Linked DNA regions of Homo sapiens: all the other regions are linked to region 4. The links are contacts of gene promoters, found by promoter capture Hi-C in blood cells and fetal thymus (Javierre and others, 2016). All regions are on one chromosome and are shown on one strand. The core of a region is centred on a gene start or on the middle of the fragment in contact, and the rest is flanking DNA. Distances in the headings are between cores, read along the strand shown. Region 1 overlaps EIF4EBP2 (eukaryotic translation initiation factor 4E binding protein 2). Region 2 overlaps PALD1 (phosphatase domain containing paladin 1). Region 3 overlaps UNC5B (unc-5 netrin receptor B). Region 4 holds the start of PCBD1 (pterin-4 alpha-carbinolamine dehydratase 1). Region 5 has its middle 8.7 kb from the start of PALD1. Region 6 overlaps UNC5B (unc-5 netrin receptor B). Region 7 overlaps UNC5B (unc-5 netrin receptor B).

What was found. Contacts are between HindIII fragments. The CHiCAGO score rates a contact against its expected background, and 5 or more counts as called.
Region 1: a fragment that was not itself captured here is called in contact with the fragment with the promoter of PCBD1 in region 4 in 4 of 17 cell types (activated CD4 T cells, total CD8 T cells, M2 macrophages and 1 more); the score reaches 5.1 in activated CD4 T cells.
Region 2: a contact is called between a fragment that was not itself captured here and the fragment with the promoter of PCBD1 in region 4, in 1 of 17 cell types (activated CD4 T cells). The highest score is 5.0, in activated CD4 T cells.
Region 3: a fragment that was not itself captured here is called in contact with the fragment with the promoter of PCBD1 in region 4 in 3 of 17 cell types (M0 macrophages, endothelial precursors and M1 macrophages); the score reaches 5.9 in M0 macrophages.
Region 5: a contact is called between a fragment that was not itself captured here and the fragment with the promoter of PCBD1 in region 4, in 4 of 17 cell types (naive B cells, total CD8 T cells, activated CD4 T cells and 1 more). The highest score is 8.5, in naive B cells.
Region 6: a contact is called between a fragment that was not itself captured here and the fragment with the promoter of PCBD1 in region 4, in 3 of 17 cell types (endothelial precursors, fetal thymus and M0 macrophages). The highest score is 5.9, in endothelial precursors.
Region 7: a fragment that was not itself captured here is called in contact with the fragment with the promoter of PCBD1 in region 4 in 1 of 17 cell types (M1 macrophages); the score reaches 5.2 in M1 macrophages.

Annotation. Positions count from the first base shown.
Region 1 is chr10:70,412,255-70,416,622 of GRCh38, forward strand. All of the region lies in intron 1 of EIF4EBP2 (eukaryotic translation initiation factor 4E binding protein 2), which reads left to right. Among named protein-coding and RNA genes, the nearest start is that of EIF4EBP2, 10 kb to the left of the region's middle. The HindIII fragment of the contact is 4,807 bases long and covers 609-4,368 here.
Region 2 is chr10:70,496,766-70,500,674 of GRCh38, forward strand. The region is part of intron 1 of PALD1 (phosphatase domain containing paladin 1); the gene reads left to right. Among named protein-coding and RNA genes, the nearest start is that of PALD1, 20 kb to the left of the region's middle. RefSeq lists enhancers at 2,174-2,935, 2,936-3,695. The HindIII fragment of the contact is 5,152 bases long and covers 1-3,909 here.
Region 3 is chr10:71,293,100-71,297,360 of GRCh38, forward strand. It overlaps UNC5B (unc-5 netrin receptor B), which reads left to right. Exons shown (of 17, transcript NM_170744.5): 12 at 306-474; 13 at 601-834; 14 at 2,712-2,861; 15 at 3,479-3,643. Among named protein-coding and RNA genes, the nearest start is that of SLC29A3, 24 kb to the right of the region's middle. RefSeq lists an enhancer at 2,361-3,168. The HindIII fragment of the contact is 7,740 bases long and covers 1-4,261 here.
Region 4 is chr10:70,885,955-70,889,893 of GRCh38, forward strand. PCBD1 (pterin-4 alpha-carbinolamine dehydratase 1) reads right to left here and starts at 2,611. Exons shown (of 4, transcript NM_000281.4): 1 at 2,577-2,611. The coding sequence starts at 2,579. RefSeq lists silencers at 1,868-2,147, 2,478-2,727. The HindIII fragment of the contact is 14,850 bases long and covers 1-3,939 here.
Region 5 is chr10:70,468,061-70,472,054 of GRCh38, forward strand. It overlaps a transcript of PALD1 not described here. Among named protein-coding and RNA genes, the nearest start is that of PALD1, 8.7 kb to the right of the region's middle. The HindIII fragment of the contact is 3,012 bases long and covers 897-3,908 here.
Region 6 is chr10:71,274,999-71,279,275 of GRCh38, forward strand. The region is part of intron 1 of UNC5B (unc-5 netrin receptor B); the gene reads left to right. Among named protein-coding and RNA genes, the nearest start is that of SLC29A3, 42 kb to the right of the region's middle. RefSeq lists an enhancer at 3,835-4,277. The HindIII fragment of the contact is 5,590 bases long and covers 1-4,203 here.
Region 7 is chr10:71,242,634-71,246,391 of GRCh38, forward strand. All of the region lies in intron 1 of UNC5B (unc-5 netrin receptor B), which reads left to right. It overlaps LOC112268061 (a long non-coding RNA gene), which reads left to right. Exons shown (of 2, transcript XR_002957083.2): 1 at 1-3,740. Among named protein-coding and RNA genes, the nearest start is that of UNC5B-AS1, 26 kb to the left of the region's middle. RefSeq lists an enhancer at 3,535-3,758. The HindIII fragment of the contact is 237 bases long and covers 2,391-2,627 here.

The DNA of each region.
Region 1 (4,368 bases), core at 1,762-4,261, 470 kb before region 4:
GTCCATCTCAGCCTTTTTGGAGGGCTTGTGGGCAAGTTACTTAATGTTTCGTTCTCCAGGCTGTCTATTTGCGTGAGTAAATGGTTAATTCTAATTCTGGAAGCAGACTTAGTTAAACAGAATTTTATGATGGCGGCCGGGGGGTGGGGGTGGGGGCTCCCTGTAAAAATATAGTTAACAACTACCCTGTAAGTTAACCATGTTATAGTGGACTTTCTCTGTGTGGTTTAATTTCAGCTTACATAATTTCTTAACTATATAGCTTAATGCATGGATTATTTATCATTTAAACTAAGGTACTTGGTATTGAAAGAGGCCGTTACGCTTGAATGACCTTGTTTCTATACTAGCCATCTTGGCAAGCATAACTTTGGGCTTTATTCATTGACCTTCTTGTTGTTTTCTGCAGTTTGAGAATCACTGGTTTTTAGATTCAAAGGTAGATAGGGTTTTTCCCCCCTCTCTGTCAAAGGGACTCAGTTTTACTCTCATATTTCCCTAGTAATGTTAAATCTAGAAAGTCCTGGATGAAAGTATTAGATTTATCCTAATATCTGGTCACTAAGGGATGAAAAATTTATAAATAGCTAATGTTAACCTAGATCTAAAGCTTCCTATTCTGAAATCCAAACATGAAGACTAAGAAAAATATGTACATTTTGAAACAAAGCAGAAAAATGAAACTTCAACAATGTAAAAGAGGGTAAAATGCCAGTAGACAGCCACTTTCAGCAGTTTCTGTTTACAGTGCTTTTGCTGGCTACCATTGTTGCTGTAAATAATATATGTATACTGTGATTTCTTTAACATTAGACAATACTGTTAACTCCCCATTATGAAAGATGAGGAATCTAAGATACTTTTATTACTTTCTGTCTCTTGTTTCTCATCCTCTCTCCATTTACTAATTTCTGTAAATTGTATTATCATTTTTGGCTCCTCTAGTAGTTATCTTTAAAGCTCTAAATAATATGTGTCTCAACCTGTCAACTTTAGCTCTCCACTGTATAAAAGTACACCATTCACCTGTCCTCCTGCCTTTACTTTGCTGGTATGTAACCTCATTATGTTTATAATATCAGGGTTTGTGGGCAGGCTTGGTGGCGTACACCTATAATCCCAACACTTTGTGAGGCCAAGGCAGGAGAATCGCTTGAGCCCAGGAGTTTGAGACCAGTCAGGGCAACGTAATGAGACCCCATCTCTACAAAATATAAAATTAGTTGGACTGTAGTCCCAGCTACTTGGGAGGCTAAGGTGGGAGGATCACCTGAGCCCAGGAGGTCAAGGTTGCAGTAAGCCGTGATCATGCCACTGCACTCAAGCCTGGGTGATAGAGCAAGACCCTGACTCTCAAAAAAAAAAAAAAAAAAAAAAGAAATCAGAGTTTGTAACATTTACGTACTGTTCCTTAACTGTTAATTCTTCTATGCTTTTACTATAGTTTGATTATAAACGTTGAAAATCAAACAGCATATACAATATTGTGATTTTTTTTCATAACTTTCCAATATAAGACTAAGGAGCATGATTATTTTCATAGAGAAGGAATGGAAAATTGTTTTTTAATTTTTGTAACACTCCATCAATTGATCACAATCATGCCCCATTTTAATACTGTGTTATATGAGCTATGGATTTCTTGTGTAGTCTGTTTTCCTTCTTCAGTAGCTTAAGGTTAACTTGTTTCTAGTTACTTATGGCTGCATTGGTTGACATTAAATTGAGCTGACATAGCGTTGGAGGGAGTCTGGGTGAAATGTGAATTGCTAGGAAGTCCTTGCTTCAGAAAATGTACATCTGTGCATGCATATGTATAAGAAACCTTAAATATTTTAGATTTTTTAATAGATTGTCTTGGAATTGATGTAAGTTTATAGTAAACATAATATTCAATAAAGGAAATAAAGGGTTTTTTCCTGCCATTTTATCCATGGTTGAATCTTAATTTTTTTTCTTTGAATAATTTTGGTTTTTTAAAAGGTCAGTTTCTTTTGAATTACACCCTAAAATCATTAGTGATTAACAAGCTGATTCTGTATTTTTGCTTTATACCCACTACAATTAAATTTTTTTTAGCTTGCAGAGATTACTAAAATTCAAAAACTTATAAATACTATACTTTCATAGTCATATTTTTCCTGGCTATATTTGAGAACATTACAGCATTAAGACGCTAGTTCTTCAGTGTGTCTTGTTGTCTGAATTATTTACTGTGTTGGCATTCAAAATCAAACATATCTTAGGAATGCATTAAAAAAACTATTAGAAATAATAGGTGAGTTTGCCAAGGTTGCAAGATAAAAGAGCCATATAGAAAAACCTGTTTTTGGCCCAGCACAGTGGCTCATGCCTGTAATCCTAGCACTTTGGGAGGCCAAGGCTTGCAGATCACTTGAGGTCAGGAGTTCGAGACCAGCCTGGCCAACATGGTGAAACCCCATCTCTACTAAAAATACAAAAATTAGCTGGGCATGGTAGCGCATACCTGTAATCCCAGCTATTTGGGAGGCTGAGGCAGAAGAATCACTTGAACCCAGAGGGTGGAGGTTGCAGTGAGCTGAGATCACACCCTGCACTCCCGCCTGGGCAGCAGAGGGAAAATCCATCTCAAAAGCAAAAACAAAGAAAACTGGTCACGCTTGTTATCCCATCATTTTGGAAGGCTGAGGTGGGCAGATGGCTTGAGCCCAGGAGTTCAAGACCAGCCTGGGCAACATGGTGAAACCCCGTCTCTACAAAAAATACAAAAATTATTTTTTTCTGGGTGACATGTGCCTGTAGTCCCAACTGCTAGGGAGGCTGAGGCAGGAGGACCGCTTGAGCCCAGGAGGTGTAGGTTGCAGTGAGCCAAGATTGCACTTCTGCCCTCTAGCTTGGACGACAGAGCAAGACCCTCTCTCGAAAAAAAAAAAAAAGAAAAGAAAAAGAAAGCAATCCCATTTACAATAGCATGAAAACAATTTGATAGGAATAACTTTAGTCACAAAGCATAAAACTTTTACTCTGGAAACTACAAAACATTGTTGAAAGAAATTAAAGAAGACCCAAATAAGTGGAAAGACATTTGGTGGCCATGGATCAGAAGACTTAATATTGTTAAGATGGTAGTACTCCACAAATTGACCTTCACATTCAGCACAGTCCCTATCATAATCTCAGCTGGCTTCTTTGACAAGCTGACAAAATTCATATGGAACTTTAAGGGACCTAAAATATCCAGAACAATCTTGAAAAAGAAAAACTAAGTTGGAGGACTTACACTTTGTGGTTTCAAAACTTATTACAAGTCAAGACAGTGGGGTACTAGCATATGGATATACATATAGATCAATGGAATAAAATTGAGAGTCCAGAAATAAACCCAGCAATAATGGCCCATTGATCTTCAACAAGGGTGCCAAGACAATTCTGTGGAAAAAGAACAGTTTTCAACAGATAGTGCTGATACAACTGGATATGCACACAGAAAAACTGAAGGTGGACCAGATGGCTCAAAGACCTAAATGTCAGAGCAAAAGCTATTAATGTACAACCTTTAGAAGAAGACAGAGGCAAATCTTTATGACCTTGGATTAGGCAGTGGCCTGAGATATGACTCCAAAAGCACAAACAAAAGAAAAAAAAAAAAACATACATTGGACATCATGAAAATTAAGAACTTTTGTGCTTCGAAGATCATGAAGAAAATGAAAAGATAACCCACAGAATAGGAGACTATATTTGCAGTCACATAAGAGATTTATATCCAGAATAAAGAACTATCATAATTTAGTAATAAAGACAAATCATTGAAAAATGGGTAAAGGTTCTGAATAGACAGTTTCTTCAAAAGAAGATATGTGGTGGAATGGCCTGTTAAGTACATGAAAACAGCATGTTCAACATAATTAGCCATCAGGGAAATGCAAATTAAGATCAAACCACAGTGAGAAACCACTTCATATCTGCTAATGTTGGCTACAATATATAAAAATTAGAACTCTTACACACTGCTGATGGGAATGTAAAATAGTACAACCACTTTGAAAAACAGGCAGTTCTGGCCGGGCGCGGTGGCTCACGCCTGTAATCCTAACACTTTGGGAGGCCGAGCTGGGCAGATCACGAGGTCAAGAGATCGAGACCATCCTAGCCGACATGGTGAAACCCTGTCTCTACTAGAAATACAAAAATTAGCCGGGCATGGTAGCATGCACCTGTAGTCCCAGGTACTTGGGAGGCTGAGGCAGGAGAATCGCTTGAACCCAGGAGGCGGAGGTTGCAGTGAGCCAAGATCATGCAGCTGTACTCCAGCCTGGTGACATAGCGAGACTCTGTCTCAAAAAAAAAAAAAAAAAACCAGGCAATTTTTCAAAGGGTTAAAGG
Region 2 (3,909 bases), core at 172-2,671, 390 kb before region 4:
AGCCAGGTGTGAACTGCTGGGTGCTGGGGTAGAATCCTCCTTTCACCAAGAGGGAGACCGAGGAGGTTCCAGAGGGTCTGAGAGAGGAAGAGCCTTGCCCAGGGTCACATGATAACTCAATTAGCCTGTCTAACCCTCTTCCTCCCTTCACCTTCCAGTCTTAACAACCTCCCACTCCCAGCTGCAGCCTTGTGGGAGAGTGGGCAGGCTGGAGTTGGGGGTAGGGGGGCTTCTGGAGGGCCATATTTCCAAGTCTCGTTTCACTGGGCGTGCCCACGAAGCAGCAGTCTTCTCTGCCTTCCTCGCCCACCTCCTTCCCCATCCCTGGCTCCAGAGCGAGTGGCCAGACTGCAGTTTGCCCTACGTGGTGGTTGGTGCTGGGAGAGATGAGGAGGGCTTGCTGTTTGTTGGATGTTGGTGCTGGCCAGGCACAGACCCCGATCAGCACATAGGGGCTGTACTGGCATCTTGAGCCTGGGATGGTGCACATACGTGGATGAAGATCTGAGCAGAGCCCTGCACACACCTTCTACTCACGTGTGCTCCTGGCGGGTGCAGGTGTGCACAGCTGCCTCGCTCAGACCCAGCCTGTCTGGGGCCGGCGCATGCCTGGCCACAAGGCCGCCAACTCCCTGACCCGAGGTAGCGTTTGGGTCATTCCTCAGCGCCACTCGCACAGCTCTCCTGACTGTGCCAACTCTCTGGGTGGTGGTGCCTTTAGCTCTTTCCATATCTGCTCCATCTCTCCATCCTGAGCTCTGCAGGGCTGGAGATAGAAATGAATATAGGCATTAAAAACTTTTTTTTTTTTTTTTTGAGACAAAGTCTCGCTCTGTCACCCTGGCTGGAGTGCAGTAGTAGCGCGATCTCGGCCCACTGCAACCTCTGCCTCCCGAGTTCAAGCGATTCTCCTGCCTCAGCCTCCCGAGTAGCTGGGACTACAGGCGTGTGCCACCATGCCTGGCTAATTTGTGTGTGTGTGTGTATTTTTAGTAGAAACAGCGTTTTACCATGTTAACCAGGATGGTCTTGATCTCCTGACCTCGTGATCTGCCCGCCTTGGCCTCCCAAAGTGCTGGGATTATAGGCGGGAGCCATGTGCCTGGCCTATTAAAAACATTTTTTAACGAGGCCTTAATTTTCTTTTACCATGGTAAAATATACGTAACATAAAATTTACCATTTTGGGCGTTTAAAATTGTATAATTTAATGTCATTAAGAGCATCCATATTGTGCACCCATCACCACCATCCAGCCCCAGAACTTTTCCTTCTTTCCAAACTGAAACTCTGCACCCATTAAACACTAACTCCCCACTCCCTCTCCTCCAGGCCCTGGCACCCACAGTTCTACTTCCTGTCTCTGAATTTGACCAAGGTATCTCATATTATTGGAATCGTACAATATTTCTTCTTTTGTGTCTGGCTTAAACATATAACATAATGTCCTCAAGGTTCATCCGTATTGTAGCATGTGTCAGAATTCATTTCTTTTAAAAAATGTTAACATTTATTTTATTTTTCTTTAGAGATGGGGTCTTGCTCTATCACCAGAGCTAGAGCGAGCACAGTGGCATGGTCCTAGCTCACTGCAACCTCAAGTTCCTGGGCTCAAGCAATCCTCCTGTTTCAGCCTCCCAAGTAGCTGGGACCACAGGAGTGTGCGCCACACCTGGCTAATCTTTAAAATTATTTTTTATCGAGGTGAGATCTTGTGTTGCCCAGGCTGGTATCAAACTCCTGACTTCAAGCAGTCCTCTTGCCTTAGCCTCCCAAAGTGTTGAGATAACAATCATGAGCCACTATGCCTGTCCTGTTTTGTTTTTTTTTTTTTGAGGCTGTAATTGTTCTTTTGAGCATATTTGAAAGGTATCGCACAGACTGGGCGCGGTGGCTCACGCCTGTAATCCCAGCACTTTGGGAGGCTGAGGTGGGTAGATCACCTGAGGTCAGGAGTTTGAGACCAGCCTGGCTAACATGGTAAAACCCGGTTTCTACTAAAAATACAAAAAATTAGCCAGACGTGGTAGCGCGTGCCTGTAAACCCAGCTACTTTTGAGGCTGAGGCTGGAGAATTGCTTGAACCTAGGAGGCAGAAGTTACAGTGAGCCAAGATCGCCCCATTGCACTCCAGATTGGGCAACAAGAGCAAAACTTTATCTCAGAAAAAAAAAAAAAGGTATCATACGTCTTTGGGATTGAGTGAGGGGGTCAGCTTGATGGTGAGAGTGGCAATAAATAGCATTTGTTATGTTTACCAGGTGCTAGCACTTTCCTTACATTGTCTCATGTAATCCTTACCATATCCCTATGAAGTAGGTATTAACATTATCCTTATTTTACACATAAGGGAACTAGGCTCAGAGAAGTTCGGTAACTTAGCCAAGGTCACACAGTAAGTCACGGGCAAGCTAGGTTTGGATGCCAGTTCTGCCTGGCTCTACAGCCAGTGCTGTGTGTTTCTGACCCCAGCTCTGGCCCTTCCTTCTTCAATACCAGGCTTAGAGTTATTTCTTCAAATCCTTCTTGTCACCTCTCTGGCCTGAGTGTGGAGCTGATTGGTGCCATGGTATGGGCCCCTCCTCCCAGCCCCAGGTCCCCTTCCTGGGCCCCAGCTTCTTCTGAAAGCCTCTTTATGCAGCAGCCTCTGGGCCAGGCGGGAGTGTCTGCAGGGAGGTGGGCCTCAGAGCCCGCAGTGTGAGGCTGGCAGGGGCGGCTTGGCCTGGGGTGGCCACACGGCAGGATGTCCCTCTTGGCAGGACTTTCCCTGAAAAAACAGCTACCAGGACTTCAGGATGGAAGGGACAGATAAACAGGAAGAGGGAGAAACTTAAAAATATTTTTCTTCCTCTCCCGTGGCCTGGCATTTTCTCCCTGCTCCTCCCTCTGCCACTGGAGGTTTGAGGTGGTGGAGTGCTTGCTCCCCTGCCCGAAGCTGCCCGGGGGCCTGGAGAGCCACAGCTGGCAGGTGCAGGTTCATTCTTGTGGGTTTTGTTTTGCCTGATGGGCTGGTGTGAGCCTAGGCATTCAGGGCCAGACGGCCTGAGTTTGAATCTTTGCTCCACTGTTTCTTTGCTGTGGGTTCTAGGCCAAGTCACTCAGCCTCCTGATGCATCAGAATGGCCACAATCTGTAGCTGCAGGGCTATTTGGAGAAATGATATGGCAGTGACTCTTTGTCACGCTCCAGCTGTGACACTCAGGTGGATCTGTACAGGGGTTTTCTCAGTTAGTCCTCATGGCCTCAGAGGTGGGTGTGGGCATGGACTTCACTGACAGGTGTTGAAGCATAGAGAGGTGGAGCTTCAGTCAGGGGCATCAGGCTGGTCGTGGTGGAGCTAAGGCTCGAGCCCACACAGTCTGCATTCAACGCCCTGCTTGCTCATTGGTCTGGTGTGTGGTACCTTGGCACGTGGTACTATTGGAACTGTGAACTTCTTTCTTAGTTTGGGGTTGGTGGGGTGAGCTTTGCACCCCAGATGTCCCAGAGCAGTACCCACCCTGTTGCTCAGGTGCCTCCACATGGTGCCTCCTCCCTGCAGCCCCACTAGGTGGACACAGGCCGTGGTCGTGCTTCTCTCCCATTGCCACAGCTGGGCAGCACATCACACCCCGCAGAGCAACACCTAAGATCCTGGCATGGTCCCCAGGGACTGGGGTTCGGCCTACCCCACCTCATCCTATATTCTGGCCTCACAAGCACCTTAATTCTTCCCACAATACTATACAGGAGGCACCTCTCTCTATGCTGCTCCCTCTGTGCAGAGTGTGCTTCCTCCCCCTTCCGGTCTATCAAATGTTGCTCATCCTTTAAGTCCCAGCTCTGTTCCTTTTTCGGGAAGCCTTCCCAGAGTTCCCGACCATTAGTTAACGTCTTCCGCCACTGTGCAGCTCGGTATAATGGGAAAGG
Region 3 (4,261 bases), core at 1,577-4,076, 410 kb after region 4:
CTGGAGGGCACTTTAGCGTGACCTATTGAAAACCTTCCAAGATTACACAACCTTGGAAAATATAAGCCAGGAATTTTGAGCTATGATAATGTTGCAGTGGAATAGCAAAAATCTGGAAACAACCTCAAGGTTCATGCCATTTTCTTTGCCTCCTTTGCCCCCATGACCTCTGGGAATGCAGAGCCCTGAGTGGCAAAGAGCTGCCCTCCACCTCCCGGGCCCTGGGCAGACTTGGGAGCCCAGCAGGAGCCTGCACCTTTGCCGAGCTCTTCACTGCCTCTCTCCTACCCTGTGTCCTCCTCCAGCCCGCTTTCAGAAGGGACCCAGACAGTATTGAGCCCCTCGGTGACCTGTGGACCCACAGGCCTCCTGCTGTGCCGCCCCGTCATCCTCACCATGCCCCACTGTGCCGAAGTCAGTGCCCGTGACTGGATCTTTCAGCTCAAGACCCAGGCCCACCAGGGCCACTGGGAGGTGAGGAGCCACGGTGAAGGCTGGCCCAGCTCTCCCAACCTGCCCAGGGAGGCAAAAGAAAGCCCTTTTCCTCTGGCCCAGCCTGAATAACTGTGACCACTACCCCACCCTTGCTGTCCCCTACAGGAGGTGGTGACCCTGGATGAGGAGACCCTGAACACACCCTGCTACTGCCAGCTGGAGCCCAGGGCCTGTCACATCCTGCTGGACCAGCTGGGCACCTACGTGTTCACGGGCGAGTCCTATTCCCGCTCAGCAGTCAAGCGGCTCCAGCTGGCCGTCTTCGCCCCCGCCCTCTGCACCTCCCTGGAGTACAGCCTCCGGGTCTACTGCCTGGAGGACACGCCTGTAGCACTGAAGGTAGGGCCAGCTGCAGGTGCCCACACAGCCCTGGCCGGCCAGCTGCATGATCCCTGCCAGAATCCCCCACCCCAGGCTCATGGGTCCTCCCAGGAACCCCTCCCCGCCACCAGCATTATTAGGTCCCGCTTGCGACCCTCACACACTGAAACAGCCTTGGGCACAGGGCCTGCCTCACCAAGATCCAGGTTAGAGGTGGGAGGCAGACCAGGGATCCCTGAAGGCTCTGATGGGGTCTGCCCCAGGACTGAGGGAGCATCAGACTGGGAGGGGCTTGGGCTGGTAGGGAGGGACTCTGAGAAGGCTGACATGTAGGAGTTTCAGCAGAAAGGAGTGAAGGGCATTCCAGACCGACAGAAATGACTGCGTTTCATAAGCGTTTCAGCATGACCAACTAAAAGGCATAGGGAATGTGTGAATGTGAGGGCGGGCGAGATGGGCAGGGCTCAGCTTCCCAGAAGCCTCAGGGCCCCTTGCCAAGGAATTTGGAATCCATCCGGCAGGAAGGGGAATGGACCTGGTAGACACCTGTTCACAGGTGCTCTTTAGAAAGCCCCTGTGGCTATACTTGGGTGGGTAGATGAGAGGTGGAGAGGCCTGTTGGGAAGCTGGGGTTGGACCCTGGGCCACAGGGAGTGACAGCAGCCAGGAGAGGCGGGGCTGGATGCTGCGTGTGCTCAGTCAAATGGACAGAACCGGTGACTGATGGGATGGGCAGTGGGAGAGGGAAGTTAAGGCTGACAGCCAGGCTCCTAGCATATGCAGAAGGATGGAGAGCGGTGCCCCAAGTGAAGGAAGGGTCATGCAGATGAGGGGTGGTTGGGACAGGAGGGAGGGAAGGGGAGGGAAGGGTCTTTTAGTACCTAGAGCCTGATGATGGCAGGTATGGAGCCCCGTGTTAGCACCACTGTCCCCTGCCAGCCTCAGAGCCCTTGTGCATTCCCCCAAGTTCTCCTCCCATTCTCAGGAGCTCAGGCTCATCCTGATGTAACCCTGGAAGCATACAGACACTTGGCCGTGTGTGAGCCCCTTCCCCTCCCTCCTCCCATCTGCCCTCCTCAGCGCCTCATGGTCCTTTCCCATGGCTCCATGCACTTTCTGTTCCTGCTCCCTGGCCCCGTCCAGCTCCTTCATCTCCCAGGCTCATGGGACTTGTCCCAAAGCCCACACTGCAGACAACATAGGTGAAAGGCCCATGGGAGAAGGAGTGTCCCCTGCTGGGAGGACCCTGGCTTGAGATGCCAGTGGCCCTGTGATGGGTGCAAGGTGCCTGGGAAGTGCTCCTGCAGCTGGATCTCTTGGTCCTGGGGCGTTGGCTAATGGCCAGCTTTGGCCAGAGAGTGGTATAGAAATCAAGAGAGAAGTTACCAGGTTTGGGCCTGATGGCATTCTTTGTTTATTCAACCCTCCATCCATCCATCTGTCCATCTGTTCATCCATCCATCTGTCTTTCTGTTCATCTGACCATATACCCATTCAGTCAGCAGCCCATCTGTTTACCCAGTCATTGCTCGTCTATCCATTCATTTATCTTTTCTTCCATCTTTCTATTCATATACCCATCCTTGTATATCCATCTGTATATTCATCTGTCTGTCTTTCTAGCCATCAATCCGTTTATCCATCCATCTGTCCATTTATTAGTCCCTCTAGCCATACGGTCATCTATAGATTCATTCATCTAGTCATCTTTCCCACTGTCTGTCTATCCATCCGTCATCTATTCATCTTCTCACACCATAAGCCCTCTGTGAGCTCTTGCAAATGCCCAGCCATGCACTCAGATGGGCCCCTGCCCCCTGCCCCGCACAGTGCCACAGAAGAGGCCCATTGGCCAGGTGTGATGGGTTCCCCTTCCCCATGCCCCTGGCCCACAGGAGGTGCTGGAGCTGGAGCGGACTCTGGGCGGATACTTGGTGGAGGAGCCGAAACCGCTAATGTTCAAGGACAGTTACCACAACCTGCGCCTCTCCCTCCATGACCTCCCCCATGCCCATTGGAGGAGCAAGCTGCTGGCCAAATACCAGGTGAGGGCTGGGCTGATGGATGGGGAGGGGCACCACTTAAGGGCTGCCCGGGAAGCCCAGCTCCCTCCCGGGCCCTGCCTCCTAGCTCTGTCCTGTGGCCTTACCCCTCCCTGGATCTCTCACTGTCTCTGTCTCCTCCCACCCCAGTCTCTAGGCTTTCAGCCATCCCCAGGCACGTCCCCAAATTCAGGGCAATGGGCAGCCACATGCACACTTCTGCCCTGTCACACCCTCACACGCACAGACGACTATGCCCTTCATCCTCACAGAGGCTCCTCACCCTTCAGGGCATGCCCTCCTGGCAGACTGCCCATCTCATCTCTGACAGCCACAGCCCGCTGCCCACCCAGCAGCGCCTGAGACCACAAGGCCCCCTAGCCCCTGACACACACACACCTGTGCCTTTCCCTCCCCCACCTACCCACCCTCAGCTCCCTTCTGGAACTGAGGGCCTGACACCAACTCAGCTGGCTAGCTTAGGGCACTTGACCCCTCCCTATCTGGGTGGAGAGGCCTGAACTGCCCCCCAAAGCTCCCAACCCTCCCTGAGCCTCCATTTCTATGAGGACAGGGCAGGCTGGCCTTGCCTGCCTGGTCCTGACCCCCTCCTCCTGCAGGAGATCCCCTTCTATCACATTTGGAGTGGCAGCCAGAAGGCCCTCCACTGCACTTTCACCCTGGAGAGGCACAGCTTGGCCTCCACAGAGCTCACCTGCAAGATCTGCGTGCGGCAAGTGGAAGGGGAGGGCCAGATATTCCAGCTGCATACCACTCTGGCAGAGGTGAGGGAAGTCGGGGCCACATATTCCAGCTGCACACCACACTGGCGGAGGTGAGGGAAGGGTGGGGCAGATATTCCAGCTGCACACCACGCTGGCGGAGGTGAGGGAAGGGTGGGGCAGATATTCCAGCTGCACACCACGCTGGCGGAGGTGAGGGAAGGGTGGGGCAGATATTCCAGCTGCACACCACGCTGGCGGAGGTGAGGGAAGGGCGGCCAGATATTCCGGCTGCACACCACTCTGGTGGAGGTGAGGGAAGGGCGGCCAGATATTCCGGCTGCACAGCACTGTGGCATAGGTGAGGGAAGGGCCGCCAGATATTCCAGCTGCACACCACGCTGGTGGAGGTGAGGGCCAGAGGATACCTCTAGGGTTTGGGGCTGGGCTGCAGCACACAGAACCCTGTAGTTCCCTCTCACCTCCCAAGTCTGAGCGGGTATCTGGTCATGTTTTTCTAACAAGTGTCATTTATTGATTGAGTGCCATTCACATGCTTGGCATATACCAAAAAACTTACATGATCTCACAAGCACCGGGAGATGCATGACAGATATCATCCCCACCTGGGAGGTGAGAAAGTAGGTTTTAGGAAGGGCAAGGATTTGCACACAGTACACC
Region 4 (3,939 bases), core at 1,361-3,860:
CCAAGGGCATTTCTCTTTATAGGTCAAAACAGAGGGGCTCCAACCTTTAGGGGAACTTAGCTTCCACTGGCTGCTTTGGACGTGGGTGACCAAAGGGCAGCAGGTCTTTGAGCAATAGGCTGGGAGGCCTCAAGGGTGGCACCCTGCCCAGGAGGTGGGGTCCAGGCTCGTCTGCCGATAGGCCCTCAGGTCTTGGGTTTTAACACTCCACACACACACAAGGGAAATCACAAAAGCAATGTAATTCATATGACGGGGACAGAGAAGCACTCTTCCCCCACCCTGCCCTCAAAGCCTTACGGACCTTCCCTCCATGAGATTATTACATCAGTGAGGGCGTAAAAGCAAAATAAATCCCAGATGCAAATATGTTACTCCACAACCTCTCAGGAAGAGTACCCATGACTCTCCCCCCTTCCTTTTCCTATTATGTACTTCATCATATGCACCCCACGTCCCTACCGTAACTTTCACGTGTATTGAAGAGGAAACAGGCCTAGAGAGGGGAAACGACTTGTCTGCTGTTCTTTCCCGCCCACCCCTAGCCAGTGATGGCGCAGTGTTGTCTGTGTGTCAGCATTGCTGGGGCTGGACGAAGGAGCTACATTTAAAATAAGTGTCCATCCCATTCTTAGCCACACTGCAGCTGACCGCCGTTGGCACTACCTCTAGTAGGTCCTCAGTCATGCTCCCAGGCAGCCTCTGGTCCTGAGCCGCCAGGGCTAGGTTTCTCTGGTTTTCCGTCTGCTTTTCTGGCTGGTTGGGAAGCTCAGGCCAAAGTGGAAGGAACTTGGCCAAAGGCAGCTGGCAAACCTAGTGCCCCATCCTATTTACCTAATGTGCGAAGTGCCCTCAAGGCAGCCCAAATTGGCACAATTCAGGCCATGAGTGGAACCTCAGAGAAAGCAAGGAAGCAAGGGTCAGTTTCATCCTAGGAGGATCCAGGTCTAGGAGCTTAACAGATCCCAGAACCTAGGCTTCTAGAGTAGCACCACCCCAGGGCAGAAATAGAGTGCTGAATTGAAAAGATACCCTTAGGGGTGGGGAGGGAATGTGAGGGAGGTTGATTTAGCTTTTATGAGGCAGCCTGCAGACTGGACACCATGTGTTGATTGGCAGGAGTTTTGAGACCCGCTTTCACCATTTACCAGCCAGGTGGCTGTACCTCTCTTGGCAGAACCTCCACCTCCACAGATCATCATGAGGTGCCAATGGGACACTTTAGGAAACTCCACTGCTATAAAGCAAATGTCATCTGCATTACAAAAAAAAAACTTCCTAAGGCAAGCAGGCTTGTGATGGGCCTGGTAGCATTTGGGGTAGCTGAAGCATCGCAGTGCTTTCCTAAGTCCGTCTTTTTTCCCTGCTGTTTTCCCTCCTGAAAACGTGAGCTCTCTCTGGACTGATGTAGCTTGGCCCCTCTCTTCCCCTCGGCTCTGGATGACTATAGGGATTGAATGGCAGCAGCGATTTGCATCATCTGCCCAGTAGGTAGGTCTCTACTCCAGAGCTGGCCTTCTCCCCGTGGCTGACCGCCTGGTCCGTGTATCTAGACAACCAGAAGTCAGCCAAAGCATCAGAGCCCACTGTTTACTTCCTTGGCTCTTAAAGGGGTGGGTGAGTCCAGGTGAGCTCTTAGGAGGCTTCCCTTTCTCGGTAGAGCCTTCTGGAACCCCCCAGGTCGCACAGCCTGCGGCTGAACTGACAAACCTTCCAGGTGCCGGCTCTGGAGACAGAGAGGGGGACGCTGCCCCGTTTGCCTCCTCTGGCGAGGTGTGGGGAGTGGTTACCGATTTCCCAAGCCTGCATCTCTGGGACCTCAGCGCCCCTCACAAACAGCCCCACTCATCCTCCCTCCCCCAAGTCCCTCTCCTATCAAAAGGCCCTCCCAGTCTTGCCTGCTCCGAAGGCCTGTGGACCAGAAATGGTCTGATGAAGCTCGCGAGCTTACAGCAGAGCAAGGGCCCCGCCCCCGCCCCCGCCCCGGGGGTGGGTGGGGGAAGCTCACGGGAGGAGGGCTGCTCCAGCGCCACCAAGCCCCCGTGGCCTGGCACGGGCCTCAAGCCGGCGCGGGGAGTGGCTCTGGGGCCAGCATACCGGCGCAGAGCGTGAGTCCCAGGCAGACCCCGTACCCAGAGTGCCAGCGGGAAGGGGCAGCGGACAGGCACGCACACGAGCGCGCAAACTCAGCCTCCCTCTCGCTCCCACCCCAGTATAAAGCAGAATCGGGCCACCAAGGGGACGAGATCCGTGGACTCCTCCACGACTGTCTTCCCCGGCCCAGGAAGGTCGTAGGCCCCGCCCCCGGAAGGGTCCCGGAACAAGCACTGGCCGGGGTCAGGGCAGGCCTGGCCTCCCAACTGGGTGGGATTCGAACCCGCCACCGCCCCTCTCAGGGCTTCAGCTTCCCCTCCCCGCCGCCAGCGACAGAGAGCCGGGCAGAGACCCCACTTTCGGACCCCGGCGGCTCCGCAGGGGACTCGAAAAGACTTTCCCCCGCCCCTTCCCGCTCCCACCTCGCCCGCGGCTGCCCCGGCCCCGCTGCCCCGATCGCGGCCGCGCACCCCTGGACTCACCATGGCGCGGGCGGCAGCAGGTGGCCAGCGGAGAGGGCAGGCGGCGGCCGGGCGCGCAGGCTGCCGTCCCGGGGCGGGGCCGCGCTCGGGCCGCCCTCCGGTAATGATTAACGTCCCCAGCCAGGGACGCGCTCGGCCTGCTTGCTTCCAGCACTTTCCTCGCTGCTCAGAGCCATCCTCCGTGCTTGTTTCAGGGAGCTAGGGTGAAGCATGAGGGCTCCAAATGCCCGCTTCTGGGTTGGAATCCCACCCCGCCGCTTACAGCTGGGTGGCCCTGGGCGCCAGAATACCTATTTTTTTCTTTATAAAAATCTCTTATTTGGATATAATTGACATGCAATAAATTGCACATATTCAACGTGTACAATTTGATAAATTTTAATGTTTCCCTCGTGAGACCATCACCGAGATCAACATTATGAACATATCATCATCCCTGCAAGTTTTCCCTTGCCCTTTGGTAACCCCTTCCTCCCGAAACCACCTGGCCAGGCAAGCACTGATGTACTTTAGGTCACTATAAATTAGTTTGCATTTTCTAGAATTTTATGTAAATGGACCATAGAGTATATACTAGGCAGGATAACTGTTTTGGGGTTCAGCCATGTTGTTGCCTATATCAATGGTTTCTTCCTTTTATGGCTAAGTAAAATTTATTTTATAGTATTGCATTGTACAGATAGACTACAATTTGTTTAGCGATTCACTATTGGACATTTGCGTTGTTTACCTTTTGGCTATTACAAATAAAGCTGCTGCGAATATGGTGCACAAATCTTCGAAAGTACGTATGTTTTAATTTTCCTTGAGTAAACACTTAGGAATGGAATGCCTGGGTCATGTGGTAGGTGGACTTTTATAACTTATTAGGAAACTGCCATACTGTTTTGCAAAATGGTTGTATCATTTTATATTCCTAGCAGCAGTGTATGAAGGTTGCAGTTCTCTGTCCTCACCAACACTTGATATAGTCAGCCTTTTAAATTTTAATTGGTGTGTAGCAGTATCTCATTGTGGTTTTGAGTTTCCTTGATTAGTAATTGTATTGAATGTCTTTTCATGTACTTATTTGCTAAGGATAAGTTTTTTTTATTGAATAGCATGTTTGAATTTCCTGCCCATTAAAAAAGAAATTGGGTTGTCTTCTTATCGAGTTTTGAGGGTGTTTTATTCTGGATATAAGGACATGATCAGGCAGTGATTTGCAAATATTTTCTTTGCATTATCTTATGGTGCCTTTCAAAGAGCAAACGTTCTTAATTTTGATGAAATCCAATATATCAAATGTTTCTTTTATGGATTTCTATTTTGATGTTGTACACATAGAAATCTTGGCCTAACCCAAGATCAAAAGTTTTCTCCT
Region 5 (3,994 bases), core at 1,153-3,652, 420 kb before region 4:
AGAGGCTCCTTGGCTTTCCCAGCACAGACATGGGAAGACAGGAATGAGATGAGGATTCAGGTTTCCAGAAGCCTGGTCAGGGGACTTGATCTGTTGTGATGGCCCTTATGGAGCCTGGCCCCTGGGCTTCCCTCTGTCGGAGTAGTTGCCTGTCTTACTGGGAAGAAGGCAGGTGTGGTCCACCAGGTAAGGTTTTTTTTGAGATGTAGTTTTGCTCTTGTCACCCAGGCTGGAGTGCAATGGCGCGATCTCGGCTCACTGCAACCTTCACCTCCCGGGTTCAAACGATTCTCCTGCCTCAGCTTCCCGGGTAGCTGAGATTATAGGTGCCCGACACCATGCCCAGCTAATTTTTGTATTTTTAGTAGAGAGGAGGTGTCACCACATTGGCCAGGCTGGTCTCAAACTCCTGACCTCAGGTGATCCACCCGGCTCGGCCTCCCAAAGTGCTGGGATTACAGGCTTGAGCTACTGTGCCTGGTCACCAGGCAAGGTTTTTAAGGAAACTTTCTTTCCCTAGAGCCCAAGTGTGGAGCCCCCCTTCCCTGCCTTTGCCCACAAGGAGCCCCTGCCCAGGACTTCTTATGGACGGGGTGTAGTGGGCAGAGCACAGCAGCCTCACCCTAGCCCATGAGGCAGGACTGTGTGTGTGTGTGTGTGTGTGTGTGTGTGTGTGTGTGTGTGTGTGTGTTTTGAGATGGAGTCTCGCTCTGTCACCCAGGCTGGAGTGCAGTGGTGTGATCTTGGCTCACGGCAACCTCCGCCCCCCAGGTTCAAGCAATTCTCCTGAGGCAGGACTCTTATTATGGTCCTATAGTAGATGAAGAGACTGAGACTAGGGGCACACAGCTGGTAAGGGACAGAGCTGGGATTTAAATCCAGTAGCGTGGCTTTAAAGCTTGCCTTTATCTACCCACAGTGGAGGGGGCACGGTACCATCTCTGAATCCATTACCTCTAGCCGCGGAAGGCACCTTGGATTTAGGGACTGCATGTGTTCCTTCTGAGCCTTGGCCAGCCCACCCTTAAGAGGAGCTGGCATCGCTGGGGCCTCTGCCAGCTGGAGTTGGGAACATCTCACCCCAGGCTGGCAGGCGGCTAAGGGTCAGATTGGCCTATCAGCCAGAGGATTACCTCGGAGTCCCTTGGAACATGGATTCCCAAATGTGAAACATTCTACCGTGGCCTTAAACCCTCCGAGGGGGCTTTCCCAGGCTCAGCCCTGGAGATTCTGGCTGAGGAGGGCTGGGCGGAGCCTGGGAGTCTGTCGTGTAACCCCTCCACCAGTGATTCAAATGCACACACAGGCAGGCTGGGGAACAACTGTTTACTCCTAACTGCTGGACCGTGAATGCTTATCTCAGATTGTCTGGGGGTGTCTGGAGGGGCCTTCCAAGCCAGCGGAGCTCCGGCGGCTGCTAGTTGAAGTGAATGTGCATTGAATGCATTATGCTTCTGAGTTTGCTGTAGAGGTGAGCGGGCTGATAAGCTGGGCTGGGTTCCCCTGGGCCACCCCTGCCTGCTGCTGGGTGCCTGCAAGATGCAAAGGGTGGGTGGGCTGGCTGGTGTCTGTGCCTTCTGAGAAGCCTAGACCTCAGCTAGCACCACAAGAAAGGAGACTGAGTCAGGTCATGAGTTCCTCATTGCTGGGAATAGTCAAGCAGAGGCAAGGGGGTTTAGTACAGGGCTGCTCCAGGTCTGGCAGGGTGCACTGACTGGCTTCTTAGAGTCCGTTTCTTTTTTCTTTTTTTTGAGATGGAGTCTCGCTCTGTCGCCCAGGCTGGAGTGCAGTGGTGCAATCTCGGCTCGCTGCAACCTCTGCCTCCTGAGTTCAAGCAATTCTCCTGCCTCAGCCTCCCGAGTAGCTGGGACTACAGGCGCCCGCCACCGTGCCTGGTTAATTTTTGTATTTTTAGTAGGAACAGGGTTTCACCATGTTGTCCAGGCTGGTCTCAAACTCCTGACCTCAGGTGATCTGCCCGCCTCAGCATCCCAAAGTGCTGGGATTGCAGGCATGAACCATTATGCCCGGCCCTGACTCTGTTTCTTTAAATTGCATTTATTATGTCCATCGTATTCTGATGGCAGAAGGGGTGAATGGTGTGATATTTGGGGGCTGCTTTAAAACACTCCAACAAGGAAAAGGAAAACAGTAGATGAAGCAAGTGTGGCAAAATCTTGATAACTGTCATATCTGGACAATGGGTGTATAGAATCAATTATACTATTCTCTACATTTGTGCATATGTAAGAATGTTCCAAATTAAAATGACAAATGTCTTAATTATTAGAATGTCAGAAATGCATGGTGTAAAAAACTCAACTATGCAGTAGGATAGTGGGAGGTCAGTCTGCTCCCCTCTCCCAGACCCCAGTCCCCTCTTAGGACTAAGTCCTCTTTTCAGCCTCTTCTACAGCCTTCCAGAGGTTGACTGTGTGTATACAAGCCTATAAGTGTGATTTATTATTTTTTATTATATAATAAATAATATTTTTATTATATAATAAATAATATTATTTTTTATTATATAATAAATAATATTATTTTTTATTATATTTTATTTTTTGACACAGGATCTTACTCTGTCACCCAGGCTGGAGTGCAGTGGCATGATCTTGGCTCACTGCAACTTCTGCCTCCTGGGTTCAAGCGATTCTCCTGCCTCAGCCTCCCAAGTAGCTGGAACTACAGGCACGCACCACCACGCCCAGGAAATTTTTGTATTTTTATTTTTATTTTATTTATGTATTTATTTTTTGAGGTGGAGTTTCACTCTTATTGTCCAGGCTGGAGTGCAATGACACGATCTCGGCTCACCGCAACCTCCGCCTCCTGGGTTCAAGTGATTCTCCTGCCTCAGCCCCCTGAGTAACTGGGATTACAGGCATGCGCCACCACACCTGGCTAATTTAGTTTTTTTTTTTTTTTGTGGTACTTTTAGTAGAGACGGGGTTTCACCATGTTGGCCAGGCTGGCTTCAAACTCCTGACCTCCCTCATGATCCTCCCGCCTCGGCCTCCCAAAGTGTTGGGATTATAGGCGTGAGCCACCGTGTCCGGCCTGAATTTTTGTATTTTTAGTAGAGACGAGGTTTCTCCATATTAGCCAGGCTGGTCTTGAACTCCTGACCTCAGGTGATCCATTGGCCTTGGCCTCCCAAAGTGCTTGGATTATAGGCATGAGCCAACGCACTCAGCCTCGATAGTATTATACATTTATTACTCTTATCCCTGGATACTGGGTTTCCAAGCTCGCTGCACATTTGTGTGTGTGCATCTGGGTGGGTGTAACTGTCGGACAGGATTCTGTGGTTGGAATCCATGTGACTTATTCATCACCTTAGAGACAGATACTGAGGCTGCCTCCAGCACCCCACTGTCATGGTCAACACCACTGTGGTCATCTTTGTCCATGTCCATCTCTGAATCTTGCCCTTTACTCTAGCAAGCATTTTTTCTCAGCTCACATACATCTGCCTTGGGTTTTAAAATAGCTGCACGGTGTTCCTAGTTTTGGATGTTCCATAGTTTAGCCAATCACCTCTCTACTGACAGACCTTTCAATCTTCTCTTTCATCATCTCACTCAAACTATGAATAGCCTTGTTCAGTTGTCAGTTTGCACACATGCAAGCACATTTCTAGGCGAAAGTCCTAGTGATGGAATTGCTGAGGCAAAGGGTCTGTGCCTTTGTCATTTGCATGGATACTGCCAGAAAAGTGTGAGAATATCTGTTTCCCACCCATCAGCAAAACTGTCTTCCAGCGCTTAGGTTCTTTGAGGCTCAGAGAGTGGTGGTCTGGCTGGGATAACACAGCCAGTGAGGGTTGGCACTGAGCCTGGCATGCAGGAAACTGAACCCTGGCCAGTGACCTTCCCAAGGCACTGCTTTGGCTTCTTCATGCCCGAAGCTTCACAGAGTCTGGGACCTTCCTAGCAAGTCTGGGGGCCTCGGCCTTTGGAATGTGCCTGGTAAGCAACCCCTCCAAGTGCCC
Region 6 (4,277 bases), core at 159-2,658, 390 kb after region 4:
CTCATTTTACAGACAGAAACTCCAGGGCCTGGGAGAGAATGGCCACACAGCAATGCCAGTCCCCAGCTGGGATGCAAACCCAGGGCCTCTGCCTCCAGCGATCTTTCGTGTCCTTCATTTGACTGTCTTGTCATTACATCTGTGCAGGGATGTGTCTTCTTTCATAGCTTCTTGGCGGGATATCTGGACCATTCTTGGATGCAGCTTTAAAGGCAGGCTGCACTTTTGCAATTTAGGCCCAAACGAGTTCTACTCTTGGGAAAAAACACTTCATGTGGGAATTTTCCTGCCAGCAGGAAACCCAGATCCGGCCTGGCTGAGGCAAGAACTTCTAGGGGAGCCTGTCTTAGATGTGGTTCCTCTGTAGAGACGGAGCAGCAGGAAGTCCTGCAGAGAGGCCAGGGAGGCAGGGCTGAGAGACATGGCTCAAGCCTTGCTTCCTGCCATCGACCAGGTGACCCTTCATGTCCCTTGTTGCCCCTCGTTTTCATTTGTAAAATGGGAAGAATTGCAAGGAGTAGCACATAGTAGACCTAAATGCCCATTTCCAGTTCAGCAGAGCTCGGAAGACAGATTCTAGTATCAGATCACCTGAATTTGCCCCCTAGCGGTGCCACTTACTAGCTTTATAGCTCTATGCCAGTCACTTAAACGCTTTTGGTCTCAGTTTCCTCATCTGCACTGTGGGGATAATAATCATATCCAACTCATAGGCTTGTGGTTCCCAAACTACCTGCCAAGTTATCCCAGGGTTCATCAGCACACTCACAGGGAAGCTGTGGGATATTTTTAATGTGGGAGACACGGTAATACTAGATAGCTGTCAGACACTGCACCAACAAGTAGCTCCAGGTAGCTCAGTTTCAGCATCATATCACTCTGTTTTCCTTTATTTGGCACCATATCTTTGCAAAGCTGGGATTGTGGCACTTGAGTAACCCATGACAAACAGTAAGAATAGTGGTGTCCGCTTGGATTCCAAAGTTTGAGAAGTTGTGCAGTGCCCGACAGGTGCACACATCCCTGTTCGTAAGTCTTTGTGGCTATTAGGAATGGGATAAAAATATATTTTTTCTTTCAATTTATCCTAAGATTTTAGGATATAAATATTTACAAAGCTGTTTGGATCTAATTACCTAATACATTCCTGTTAGGGACTTCTTTTTGGCCTTGGGATAGCTTAAAAAAAATTACTGAGGCACTAAAAATCAAAACGTTTGTGCATCTCTGTCTAGGGTTATTATGGAGCTCATTGAGTTCATATGAACCACTCTCTGAGCGGCGCCTGGCAGGGTAAGCATCCAGGAACCCCGAGACCCCATTATTCTCCCACCCAGCTGGTATCCGTGCAGCCTGGCCATAGGTCGCTCTCATCTAGCCCACCTTTCAAGCCTTCCTCAGTCACTGGGGCCCAAGCCAGGGCCAAGGAGAAGTGAGGGCTCTCGTTGTTTTGGAAACAGAGTCTCACTTTGTCGCCCAGGCTGGAGTGCAGTGGTGCGATCTCCACTCACTGCAACCTCCGCCTCTCGGGTTCAAGCAGTTCTCCCACCTCAGCCTCCCGAGTAGCTGGGATTAGAGGTGCACACCACCATGCCCGGCTAATTTTTGTATTTTTAGTAGAGATGGGGTTCCACCGCGATGGCCTGGCTGGTCTCGAGCTCCTGAGCTCAGGCAGTCCACCCACCTCGGCCTCCCAAAATGCTGGGATTACAGGCGTGAGCCACTGCGCCCGGCCTACTCCCTTACTGAAGTTGCATTCACTGTGCACCTGCTGTGTGCTGGCCAGCAGAGTCCACTCATGGTCCCTCCAGGCAGGAACCTCAGGTGGGCCTCTCATTCTTCCTTATGTCCTGGCAGTCTCTGCCTCCAGGACACCTAGGGTATAGGGACAGCAAGAGGGCAACAGCTACATCAAGAGCCATCCGGTACTGCTGCAACAGAGAGGCACAGAGGGGACACTTGGCCTGCGCCCCTGCCAAGGCCAGAGCTGAATCTTTGCACCAGGGCTGAGAGGAGGGGCGGGGTAGGAAGAGTAGGGCGGTGGGGCTGCCAGACGCAGGGCCTGCTGCACTAATGGATGTCTAATGTTTGCTTTCCTCAGTCATGTCTGCACCCACTTAATAAATGGTCTGCATTAGAGTTATAAAACAAAGTCATAATACAGCCTGCAGTGCTGCAGAGCACAGAGGCGGCTGTCACCCCGGGGCTGGGGGTGGTGCGGTTAGAAGATGGGGGCAGGCACGTGACATGCACCCATGGGCCCCCATGCCCCTTCTCCTGTGGCCATGACCTGCCCCCAGAGGGAGGCTCAATCCTGCCATTTCAAAGATGAGCTGCCTGAGGCCAGCAAGGGGCTGGTTCAGACCCAGGGGCCTCTTGAGTCTGAAGGCAGAGCTCTGTCCCACACCCCTCAGGGCTGAGACGGAGACAAGATGCTGGTGGTGGGTGGTGGGCATGGAGCCTGGCAGGTTCTCTGCTGCCCAGATGCCCTCCTGGCTCCATCCTGCTATCTCAGAGCTGTCTGGCCTGGCAGGGAGGCCTCAGTGGCCATCTCAGGGCATGCACAGCAACCAGCTCTCAGGCCACTGAAAGCCAATGTTCAGCTCCCTGGGTTGTGATCAAGTCACTGTGTCATCTCCTCATCAAATCCCCAAGCAGCCCTAGGGGGCTACCAGTTTGCCTATAGTGAATGTATCCCTGTACCTGGCAGTGGGAAGCAGGTGTCAGGGAGCCCTGGCCTGGCCTCAGGAATCTGCCTTGCTCTTCCCACATTAGCTACCCACTCACCGGGTGGCCTCGGGCAAGTCATGGGAACCATCTGAATGGTCTTCAGTTTCCTCTGCTTTGAAATGAGGACATTTCCAGCCTTGCAGGTCCCTTGATGAGAGAGCCCTGTGGACTGTGGAGTTCTGGCCCTGTCAGGGTGCTATTAGGATTCCTGGGTGTGGAGACACCTACACCATTACAGAGCTACGTAGATCAATGATAGGTGGTGTGGAGTCTGGGGCAACAGCCCAAACGCTGAAGTCTTTTCTCAGGTTCAAACTTTTGATCTGCCTCTTGTTAGCTGTATGACCTTGGACAAGTTGCTTAACCTCCCTGAGCCTCCCATTTACCCATCTCTAAAATGGGGTCTAATAGAACATACCTTACAGGGTTGGTGCCAGAATTCGATAAGTTAACAACTTAAATTCCTGCAAACATAGCACCTGATGCTGGGTGAGCCTTAGTTGTTCGTTCGATGCAGCAACATGTACGTACCTACTGTGTGCCAGGCACCGCCTAGGTGTTCATGCATGTTTGTCTCATCCTCAGAGCAGCCCAGAGACGGGGTAAGGTTGTCCACCTCTTGTGCTCATCAGACATAACGAGGTAGGTGTTAAGGTTCTCTCCCTGGGCCCTACAGAACATGCTGGATGGAGCTGGAGTCATGTGTCATCTTGTTAGCTACCCCACCCCCACCGCCCGTACACACACTGCCCAGGGCCTAGGCCCCAAGCCAGTGATAGTTCATGCATTTTCTCCTAAGCTCCCCAGTCTCAGCATGGTCTCCTGGTCCACAAAGAGAAAGCATAGTCAGACATTCTGTTCTTGGAAAACCAGGTGTCCCCTTGGCCCCTCTGACTGTAGGGGGGACTCCCTAGAGCCAGATGTGGCCTCCTAGACCAGAGAACAAGTGCACGATCCCAGTGGCCACACAGGCCTCCCGGGACACCACCCGCTCCCCTCCCTCCGCTGTAGGTGGGGCCTCTAGCTGGAGGGGCTGGGCGGCCATGCGCCACCCCACAGCTTCATTCACTGTGTCCTCTGGGCAGTTAGCAGAAGAGGACAAGCCCCCAACGGCTTGTGCCCAGCCACCTGATCATTTGGCATTTGGCACTGGAAAATTCATTTTTCTAGGTGGATTGTAAACCAGCAGGTCAATGGCCTGGTTTCCCCCGCTTCTGGGCACTGGCGGTGGCCACACCCCCCTTCCTGTTTGTCTCACCTCCTGAGGTGCAGTTCTTTCCAGGGAGACGGTGGGCCAGGATTTCCATCTGGCCCCCTTTGTGGGAGGAGACTGCCACAGGCACAGCCCCCATCTGCTCTGAAGTCTCCTCATCTGCTGTGCTGAGGGCTGGATCTGGCTGGGGTGGGGGTTGGGAAGAAGAGGCCAAGGGATGGGTGAGAGCCACAGACCATGGGAGGTGAGCTCTGTGAGGAAGCTTCTGGGAAGGAGGGCTTCCCCTGGGAGAGGAGACCTGCAGGGGGCTGAGCACCATGGAGTCCAGGCCTGC
Region 7 (3,758 bases), core at 1,259-3,758, 360 kb after region 4:
GAGACCCTGGCTGTCCCTGCAGAGGGTTGGCGGTCTGCCATGGCAGGCCAGGAGTGCCCAGTGCCCTCTCCTGCCACATCCGTTCCTGTAGATGATTGGGTCTGGGCTCTTGGTCGGCGGCCCCCAGAATCTCACACACACGTGTTGGAGGTGTCTTTATGATGCCTGGGTGAGGGAGACGGGGCCACGGTGTCACTCTCTCTGTCCTGGGCTTGGCCCTGCCAGCAGCAGGGCACTGGGTGTGTCCCAGCCTTCCAGCAGGTGGGGCCATGGAACACCCAATGAGGACCTCAGCCCACCCATTCAAGAGTCTGGGGAGCCGGGCGCGGTGGCTCAGGCCTGTAATCCCAGCACTTTGGGAGGCTGAAGCGGGCGGATCACCTGAGGTCAGGAGTTCAAGGCCAGCCTGGCCAACAGGCTGTATTTTGTATTTTCTATTAAAAATACAAAAATTAGCCGGGCATGGTGGCACGCGCCTATAATCCCAGCTACTTGGGAGGCTGAGGCAGGAGAATTGCTTGAACCCAGGAGGCGGAGGTTGCAGTGAACTCAGATCTCATCACGGCACTCCAGCCTGGGCGACAGAGGGAGACTCAGTCTCAAAAGAAAAATAAAAGAAAAAGAGTCTGGGGGCTGCTTTAGGGCCAAGCAGAAAGAGCCTGGGCTTCAGATCAGTTTCCCCATCTGTGCAGTGGGGGCTGTCACACCTTCCCTGCAGCAGCACTGTGCAGTGAAACTTCTTGCAGGGATGGGGACGTCTTCTGCCTGCACTGCCCAGTCTGGTAGCCACTAGCCACACGTGGCTATTGAGCACTGGAAATATGGCCAGGGTGATGAAGGAACTGAACTTTTAATTTTAATTAAAGTTTAAACAGCCACATATGGCTAGTGGCCACTGTGTTGGATGGCACAGCTCTGAAGGCTTCTGGGAAGATGCCATCCATCAAGTGCCCAACACCAAGGTTCTCAGCCAGGGTTAGTTCCCTTCCCTGTTCCCCGGGGGGCTTGGGAAGCCTTCGCCACCCCCTCCTCAGAGGCCACCCCACCTGGATGGCCAAGGTTGGAGAGACTAGACAGTCCAGGGTGGGCTGGAAGGAACATGGAGGAAAATCAGAACCACAGCTACAGGGATCACCTAAGGTCACTGGGTGAATACTACTTTTAAAATCTCTTCTGTGCCTCGTGATAATAACATTGGTTGAGTTCTAACCAAATACCAGGCACTGCGTGAAGGACCTTATGTATCAGGCTGCTTAACCCTTGGAGCTAACCATTGTTCTCCATAGTTTATAATTGAGTACACCGAGGCCCAGAGAGATGAAGCAACTTGCCCGAGGTCACACAGCTGGTGTGTGGTAGTGCCAGGATCTGCACCTGGGTGTGTCTGTCTGCAGAGACTGTGCCCTTTGTACAAGCCCAGGTCTCTCCATTTATTTAGCCATCACCTATTCTGCTGTATCTAGTACTGGGCCAGGCATCTTTAGGGACAGAGAATTGTGCAACACAAGGTTCCTGCCCTCTTAGTCTCCTTGGAGGAACTCCCTGCACAACACGCCCACAACAGAAATGATGCAGGGTGCCCCCAGGCATAATCAGCATGAGACTCTGAGCCCTGGCCTTCACAGGGTGGTGGCAGGTTCATCCCTACAGCCTGGGCCAATGCCTGCTGGGTAAGGGTGGCCCCCCACCCCAGGGCCACTCAGGCATTATGACGACACCCTAAACTTGGGTGTTAAGGTTTGGTTATAATCTCCTAAGATGACACCTAGCCCCTGGGACGTTGCCTGGCACTGCAGAAGGTTTACAGTAAATATCAGTTGGGTGAATGGCCTCTAGTGTTCCAGTGAGCCAGGCAGAAGAGTCATATCCTTCTTACAGAGGGCACAGATCTGGAGGAACCTGGAGACTTGCCCTAAGTTTGCCCCTACTCAGGCCCCTGCTTCTTTCTGAGGCTAGCCGGGGAGCAGGTGGAAGGAAAACACTCAGCTTGCATACGTAGAGAGGCAAGTCATAAATATCACAACCTCCAAGAGGAGAGGAGGGAGGAGGGAAGGCGGATCCTGAGAGCTAGGATGTCCGCTTCCGAGAACCCGCGATCTGCAGCCGCTGCCAGCAAGGTCCTGCAGGTCCTAGGGACACCCTGTGTGCATGCATGCATGCCTGTGTGCGCCGAACTGGTTGGCGGCGGGGGCGTGCTGGCGTGCTTGTGTGACTGTGGGCGACCATGGCACGCAGACCGCCTCCAGCTCCCGCTGGCCCTCCCCAACCCACTTCTCAGTTCTCCAGCAGCCAGATGTCTCCCAGATGTTCCTCACTTCCTGCCTGGCTCCGTGCAGTGCATGTGTGTGTTTATTTTGGACAGGCCACTAAATAATAACCATTTTAAGAAAAGCTTTTCAAAACCTCGTTCCCACGAGGAATCAGAGTTCAGGAAATAATCCCAATTCTATTCACTATTGTCCCCGGGCTCCCTTCTCTGACCTCCTCTCCCCCAACCCTGGGGACCACTTTTGAAAAGATTTCTTTTTATCCTACATGACGTGTGCTCTCTCCATAACACCATCTCTCTGGGAGCTAGGGCTTAGAGCTGGGAGCCCCTTAGAGCTTTGCTACCAGCATCACCTGGAAGCTTGTTAGGAATTCGAGGCCTCAGCACTGTCCCAGACCACAATCAGTCTGCGTTTTGACAAGATCCCAAGGTATTCGCACCTACATTCGCGTTTACCGTGAGCCTAGCTCTGTCTTATTGATGGGGTAATGGAGGCTGAGTCTGGCAGGGGGGACCCTTCTATCAGGTCTTCTTTAGCAGAATCCCAGTAGGGCCTGGTGGTACAGACTGAGAGGCCCTGAGCCCTCAGAGCTTGGGGTCTGAACTGTCCTTCTGGGTGGGCTGGCGGGGAGAGGCAGCCCAGCTAGTCTCTGATGTGGGGAGGCAAAGGGGTGGATTCATCCAGAGAATATGCCACCTCATCCCTGGTAGCCAGCATGGCCACAGACTAGGTCCCATGCCAGCCTCGCCGTGCCACATGGCCACTAGGTTTGGGCCAGTCCTAGATCTGCTCTGTGGGCTCCTGTGAGTCCCTGCTCCACCCACAGCTGCCCTCTGGAGATGGGTCTGGCCCTCCCTGTCTATTCTGTAGGCACTCTGGGTGCTCAGGTGGGGTGCCACAAGCTGGTGTCCTCCCGTTCCATTGTGACCCGGCTTGTCATCCTGCCTCCTGTGAAAATAGAGCAAATCGTATCAGCTCTGTTGGTCTCAGGGCAGTCCCAAGGACACGGGGCTGTGACTTACTGGTGATACACCGCCAGCACCCTCCTCATTTCTGGGCGTCATGGCTCCCTCCTCTCTGTATCTGAGCGAGGGTGTGCGGAAGGCCTGGCACACCTGGCTGGAGGTGGAGGTGGGGGCGGCCCCGAGAGAACTGAAGCTCAGGCTGTCCTCAGGCAGCTGGTGGCTTAGCTGGGAAACAAGACTCCCGCCTGTGGAAGCCTAAGGAGAAACCAGCCCCCAGTTCAGAAGCCCAGCAGTTGGTGAAGGCTGCCCTCGGTAAGGGAGACCTGGTAGGAGTTCATTCGTCAACAAGACTGGCGTGGCTTGGGGGGCTGCATACTGTACGCTGGGAGAGGTATGACGCTGAGGAGGCATGGAGGTCCCAGAAAGGCGGAGGACCCCAAGGGGAGAGGATCCGAGAGGTTCCTTCCAGAAGGATGGCTTTGTGGCTCTCCACACCCAGGGGCAGGTGAGATCACAGTGGGGT